2 separate regions of the Homo sapiens genome follow, and region 1 is linked to region 2. Evidence: promoter capture Hi-C in 16 types of primary human blood cells and fetal thymus (Javierre and others, 2016). All regions are on one chromosome and are shown on one strand. The core of a region is centred on a gene start or on the middle of the fragment in contact, and the rest is flanking DNA. Distances in the headings are between cores, read along the strand shown. Region 1 overlaps MMUT (methylmalonyl-CoA mutase). Region 2 holds the start of OPN5 (opsin 5).

Evidence for each region. The method cuts DNA at HindIII sites, captures the fragments that hold promoters and counts their contacts. A CHiCAGO score of 5 or more calls a contact.
Region 1: a contact is called between a fragment that was not itself captured here and the fragment with the promoter of OPN5 in region 2, in 1 of 17 cell types (M2 macrophages). The highest score is 9.6, in M2 macrophages.

The regions. Positions count from the first base shown.
Region 1 is chr6:49,440,651-49,444,542 of GRCh38, forward strand. It overlaps MMUT (methylmalonyl-CoA mutase), which reads right to left. Exons shown (of 13, transcript NM_000255.4): 10 at 1,190-1,321. Among named protein-coding and RNA genes, the nearest start is that of MMUT, 21 kb to the right of the region's middle. The HindIII fragment of the contact is 3,587 bases long and covers 494-3,892 here.
Region 2 is chr6:47,780,147-47,783,640 of GRCh38, forward strand. OPN5 (opsin 5) reads left to right here and starts at 1,886. Exons shown (of 7, transcript NM_181744.4): 1 at 1,886-2,050. The coding sequence starts at 1,921. The HindIII fragment of the contact is 3,260 bases long and covers 1-2,053 here.

The sequences.
Region 1 (3,892 bases), core at 1,037-3,536, 1.7 Mb after region 2:
CCATATTTTGTTAATGCATCTATTTTACATTGAGAGCTCCATTAAAGCCATTTCCCCCTTAGAGGAAAGTCTGAAAGATGGCACAGACTGTAAGCACATAACACTGAGAACATCACGGTGAACTAAGACAAAAAATGACAACCTCCCACCTTCGTGAGCCAGGGTACAGAGTACAACATGCAGAAAGATTGAAATATAAACTAAAAAGTGACTTCATGGTCATTTATACATATATGTGATAGACTGGCTGCTTTGAATTGTCCATATCTCATCTACCCTTCATAAGTGTGAACTCTCCCAAGGTAACAGCAATATGGTTTCTTATCATGCTATATAAATCAAAATGCTTGCTTGCTCCACTGACAAATTTACTTCCAACACAAAAAAGCACTTATCTTTGTTAAAAGAAAAAAGTTCCATTTTGATGACTTTCACCTTGGCTGTTTTGATATTTATCTAGTGTACAAGTATGGAAATTCAGTTTTTAATTGGAAGCTTGTTACAGAGGTTGGAAAGACCAATCATCAAAAAGCTAGTTCTTACACTTGAGAAATATGATCACATTAATATATATTTCCAAGTCATGCTGTGGAAATAAATGTAAGTTATTATCAGTTCAATAAATACTGATTGTAATGTATGCATAGATGCCAACTAAATGTTTACTTTCAATTATGAAAATTAAGATTTTATAATTATTCAAGCAATGAAAAATGTAAACAACTTCAAAAAATATGAAACTCTACCATAGTAAGCAGATTGAAATATAAATACCTGGAGGATATGAAGCAATATCATTGTTAGTTAAACATCTGTTTGACATGAGAAACTCCTGAAGGGGACTATGGTGAAAGTTCAAAATAGTATTAATTATATGAAAACTAATATTAGTTTCAATATTTGATATTTATTATTAAATATTATCATGTACCTATTAAAATGATAGTATAGATATATAATATGTATCATGTATGATATATTTCTAATTATATATTATATGTAATGAATAAATTATATACTCTATTATATGTTATATAGTCTATATAATTAATATTTAATTTACTATTTATTATTATAAAATTCAAAAATTTTCTCAGTTGTATGTAAGGAAATTAAGCTCCCAGTAGATTCAAGGGGATTGTGCTAACAGAAAAGATGAAATTCTGGCCTAAGAAACCTTACATATTACCTCTTGATAGCAGATGTTATCTCTTTACTTTCTCCAAATTCCTGGCGATATGCTCCACTCACCATTCGATCATTCGCTTTATGTTCACCAAATACCTTTTTCAGGGCATCTGTGATTTCTCCCACTGTACATCTGAAACATGAAATGGTGGTTCCATTAACTTCATTATTTTGTGATAAAGATATCTGTTTACCATAATATTCAATATAATTAAACATTTTATTACATAAGTAAATGACTGTAAAAATGTAAAATAAGAATTTTTTAATGCATTATGAAAGCATCTCTTCTGAAATTACTTAAGAAAAATTTATTCTGGATGCCTTTATGCATCCAATTCTCTTTTCAACATTTGTCAACCAAGAAATGACTGAATGACCTAATAATTATATATATAGACAAGTACCTGAAGGTTGCTGAATAATTCACCACTTAACACAAATGGATAAACAGCAACACTCCCATAAATATTTTTTGATAAGAAGTAAATCTTTTAGCATATTCCATCCATTTGTTCACTAACTCATCCAACATTAGCTGTGTGCCTAATATGTGCCAGATATTACTATATCTCTATATCTACTATAGCGATACAGTAATAAATGAGACCAAAGAAAAAGTACTTGTTCTTATAGACATTAACATCTGTAACATCTAGTCAGAGGATGCAGATGATAAATAACTAAATAAATAAACTAGTAAGACAATTTCATAAGGTAATAAGTACTACAAAGACACTAAACCACGCAAAGATGGAATGGGCTGTCTGGAAGAACCATTTTAAAGTTATTGAAGATGTGAAGATATGACTTTTGAACTAAGATATAAATTATAAAAAGGGGGATCCCAAGGGAACATAAAACAGTAAGAGTGTTTGAAAAAGGAAGCACTAAAAGCAAAGGCTCTGAGATGTAGGAAAATATGTTTTATGTTCTAAAAATAGAAAGAAGGGCATTAGGAACACGGCATAGTGAGGAAAGTGGTATAAGATGAGGTCAGAGAGATGGGCAAGAGTCACATCTAGCACATCTTGCAGACTATCGGAAGATTAGGTTTGAATATAAAAGGAATGGGCAACCATCAAAGGACTTTAATAAAAGTCATCTAATTTTTTTAATGAAATTAGTAGTAGAAAAAAACAGTACATACAAGTTATACTATACCTTAACCAGTTAAAGCAACATATTTTTTTAAAACTTCATTATATTAAGAAATAAACACTTAAAAGCAAAAGTAATCATTTAATGATACTGCCATATATTGGGAGAAAATTTTCCATGGGTCACTTGCTTTTCTGCACATCCTGTGGAGCAAAGCACTGACACCTCTTTATTCTGGACTATCTTTTCAAAGATGTCTGTATAGTGAATCGCCTTAGAAGACAGAAATATTGGCTACCTCCAGAGCAAAGAGTAGGTTTGCTTTCTGTCCAATATAATAATGTCTTCCTCTAGAAAAATGGAGGACATGCTTATTACCCATTACAAAAGATTCCGAATCCCTAAGCTCAGGCTTCCTCTCCTTGAATGTAACCCAATGCACTGTACATGAGGTATCATCTAGCAGTCCTTTTCACATCACTCACATCAATTGGGCATCAAAGGAACTAGCCCAAAACCTGCTGATGTTATGGCTATTAATATTGTAGTAACAAACTGTCATTAGGTTCTGATCCAGGGATCTCATATCATCAACCAACACCCCACTATACAGGATAACTTGTTAGCTTGCAAGAAGGGTAATATTTCAGACTCCTTCTGGTTCTTAATATAATAAATTTATTTATATATGATACATATAATGAGATAATTTTTAAATAACAACAAATAGAAAAATAATAAAAATTAACACATTAAGTGCCATATTCTGTTCCAGGAACTATTTTTAATGATTTAATGTCTTCTCACAAAAATCCTATTAGGTAGTAAGTACAAAAAACTTTACCTTGCCAAATATCGTGTCTATGGGAACACTGAAGCAGATATAACATGAGATTAGATTCTGTTTTTCACTCAGCCTTTTTTAAATGCAGGATGACAAAAGTTAGGAGACAAAGGAGCATGTTAAGGGTTACAAAGGCAAAACGTCTCAAGAAGGAAGAGGTGGTCAATAATGTTAAATACTGTAGAGAATTCAAGATAAGGACTAAAAATTATTCACAATATCAGACAAAGAGGAGGTCTCTAGTGAACTTAGTAAGAGCAATTATATTACAGTAGAAAATCAAATGCAGTAGACCAAAATGTCAAAAGGAGATAAAAGACTAGTAACAATTAATAAGTATTCTACTCCTAAAGGAACACATGGCTCCAATAACAAGGGAAGGACTGGGAGGGGGGTGTGGGGAAGTTGGTTGCTCTTCCGGTTGCTTCATGGTTAAAACTAATTCAAAAGCAATGGGATGACAAGTTTTTCCTATAAATTCTCAGATTAATGTTCCCCTCCCCACCCCACAGCCATTTTAACTGGTAAAATACCAAGGTAATAGGCATAAACCTGGTGATATACTTGAGAGTCCAACACATTTCAACCTGCGAATCAGTGAAATGGATTCATTTCAATAGTTTCAAAATTCCTCAGCCACAGTAAAATACACAATTATTAATACAGTTCACTCAAAACATGAATGTTTTAAATACAGAAATTTTAAAATGATAAGAATTAAATTTACGATGGATGCCATTATTTTCTTTTGGGCTCACA
Region 2 (3,494 bases), core at 636-3,135:
ACTTGAGTTAACACACAAGCATCCATTGATTCAGCATGGGACCCTGAGGAAATCTCTTATACAATAGCTATATCTTGATGGATAGGCAAGTTTGGGAAAAGTAAGCATCTCAGCATATAATAAATATACAGGACCCCCCATTCATAATATGCTTTCGAGTCCGATATCCTATTGCTCCTACAACAAGCATGAGTGACAGGTAAGAAGGAGACTGCCCATTTTACAGATGAAGTGGTTGCAGTTCAGAAAGTTTAAATGATTTGCTCAAGATCAGAGGGTGGGTATCACAGCTGGACTCCAACCTTCATCTTATGATTCTGAAGCTAAGGTGGAGGACAGGACTGGACAGCCAGTTGGGCGGGGGCAATCTTTGGGGAGGAGAGAGTTTACCAGAACAAGAGGCAGTCAAAGGGGAATCAGGAGTTTGAAAGGTAAAGATAAACTTTCACCTGGGGTAGGTCTTGGGATGTGGTGCATCTGGCAGCCAAAGATTTCTCCTACAGCTTTCTAACCATCTCAGGGAGAAGGATTTGGAATGAACATTAGCACATGACTGTCCTCAAACTGTGTGTAGGAGACTGTAGTTTCAGCCAACTGGCCACTGAAAGGGTCACTAGCCTTCCTCTGTAAGCTGTAAGTTGGCAGTTAGAAAGGGGTTAAATTCATGTCTTTTGCGAAGGTGAATTACATGGTTAGATATGTGCCGATCACCCTGTCACCGCCTGTGGGGCACACAACTCTGTGTTCCACTTGCTGTCTCATATAATGCCCGAAATTGTTGCCTAGAGAGCTGAACAGTGACATCTGTTGGTTCGATTTGAAATAGGCAAGTTCAAAAGAGAAACAGCCACACTAGTATTTCTTCCCCTTTCAAAACAAATAGGAACAATCATGACAAAGGAATGACCCTTCCAAAGGAAGTTTTAACATCAGCAGCATACTTTATCTGAAGAACAACACACGACTCCAAGTTTCAGGATGAGGGATATCATGTGACTTTTATTTTTGCAGAAAGCCCATCAAAGACTTTGTGTAAACCTTTTAAAACTCCAATTCAAAAGAAACAGTACTAAGACCTGTGTATCTGAGAAATTCCTCAATGCTCAAGATTTCATCCAGAAGCATAAATGAGCAAATAGAAAGTATGGATTTGGGGCAGTGGTGAGAAATAATGAAATTGCTTTCTGCTCTAGGAAACTTGAGAAACAAACCTTCCTGTGGATGTGCCTGTGAGTTACAACCCAGCTTGAATCCTTTCTAAATAGCTCCAAATTTCAAGATCACTTTGACAATCACCTAGCTCTTAGCTTCAATTAATTAAGTGTCCATGTTCCTTTGTACTGAATGCTCTATTTCTTTCCTTACAAAACTCTAAACCTCATTGAATGTACAATGGAAATGATTTTCTGGGAAATCTGGATAATCAAAAAATACTATATTCTGACAAGTTATATATATACATATGTAAATTTTTTATATATTATATATAATTTATATACATAAATTATATATATATAGTGTGTGTGTGTGTATGTGTGCACACTCCATACAATATCATTTCCTGCTCAGACCTTTACAAAAATTGCTAAGAAACAGTAAATTGCACAGTTTGGCCTTCAACCTTTTAATCACCCCAAGGAGAAAAGAAGTGGCTCAAAGAGTAGCATGAGAAAACAGAGGAGAAAATGAAGGCTTGGATAATCTGCCAACCGAATAACTGAGTAATGACATAATTGGATCATTGAAAAAAATGTTAAAATTTTTACCAGTTATTAATTAGAGAATCATGCATGACCCTGGGAACTTGCTTTTTGTTTTAAAACAGGAGCCACGATTATGAAATGGTTCAAGCTGGCTTATTCAGGTCTGCTGAGATCTCTACTGGTTTGCTTTTCAGATCCCTCGTGGTTCGAGAACAGAATGGCGTTAAATCACACTGCCCTGCCTCAGGACGAGCGCCTGCCCCATTACCTTCGAGATGGGGATCCTTTTGCTTCCAAACTTTCTTGGGAAGCGGATTTAGTGGCTGGCTTTTACCTAACAATAATTGGTAAGCTTCCTTAATTCTTCTGTGCAAAGGCTGCATTTAGAAAATTCATGGGCTGATATGTTAATTTTGTGAAAGGATTCTGATACTTAAGTGGATAGTTTAGTGGAGGCGAAGAGTGGGGAAAGGCAGAAGATGGAATGGCATTATGGCATTCAATAAATGTTTCCTAGAAATGACTCTTTATTATCATTATTATTAGGAATAAAATTCCATTGATAATCCAAGAACTCTTACAGCAAAATTATTTATCCATTTCATTTTGGTTACTTTGGGAGTAGATTTACTTTCTGAATACCAAAATTAATGATAATGATATTTTATTTAAACAGAGTGCTTTTTAAATAATGTTTTTGACATAATCATAAGTTTTAGGTTGAGAATGGGCCTTAAAAATAATCTAGGTCAGTCTCCTGTTCTCACAACTGTGCAAAACTCAATTGTGCTATTGTGCTATAGTACTATAGTAATGGCAGAAACACTGAGTTTACTTCACCTAAAAGTAAAGTCGCATCAAAATAGCTAAGCCATTTTGGTGACAGTTGAAAAATGTGTTGGTGATAAATGGAAGAAAGTCCGGGGTCAAAAGATTTTTGTGCATAATTGACGAAAGGGTGCACCTGCTTCTAGACTGCATGATCTCATTCATTCAGTAGCCACATGTGGCTTTTCCAAATTGAAAGTTGCTGTAGTGTAAATACTCACCAGATACTGAAGGCTCAGTACAACAAAAAGTGGTATAAAATATCTCATTAATAATTTTTAAAAATTAAATACATGTTGAACATACAACATTTTAGGTATGTTAAGCTAAATAAAATATATTATTAAAATTAATTTACTGTAAATTTTAAATTTATAAATTAAATTTTTACTTTGTAAATTTTTACTTTGTTTAATGTGGCTACCAGAAAATTTTAGAATCCATATGTGGCTCGCATTTCTGGCTTACATTACATTTATACTGGATAGCACTAATCTAGACAGTTAGGATTTAATTTAACCACCTATTTAAATTTAAGAAAAGAAACCATACTTTTCTTAAATTTAAAATTGTTGTTTTAACTTTGGGTGACCAGTGTGAAGGTGGGTTATGTCTTTAGGTTTGTTTGCCTTTAATTTTTTCAGATGTTGGGTCAAACTTGCTCTCTCTCTCTTTTCTCTTTGTTTCTATCTTTCTCTTCCACCCTTCTTCCCTTCCTCCCTTTCTCTCTTTTTCTCCCTCTCTCATCTATTTATTACTGGCTAAGAATTTCATTTAACCTCCTGAAAGTAGCAAAACTCATTAGAAAATACTTGATATCCCTCTATGGTCAGTACTTGAGGCAAAAGGAACTCATGTGATTCAACCAAATTCTGCTGTAAAGTGATTCCCTGGGTCTTTGTCTTTATTGTTGTTAGTGTTTTACTAGTTTAAATTCTGTTTCTTATAAATGAGTCCCCATCT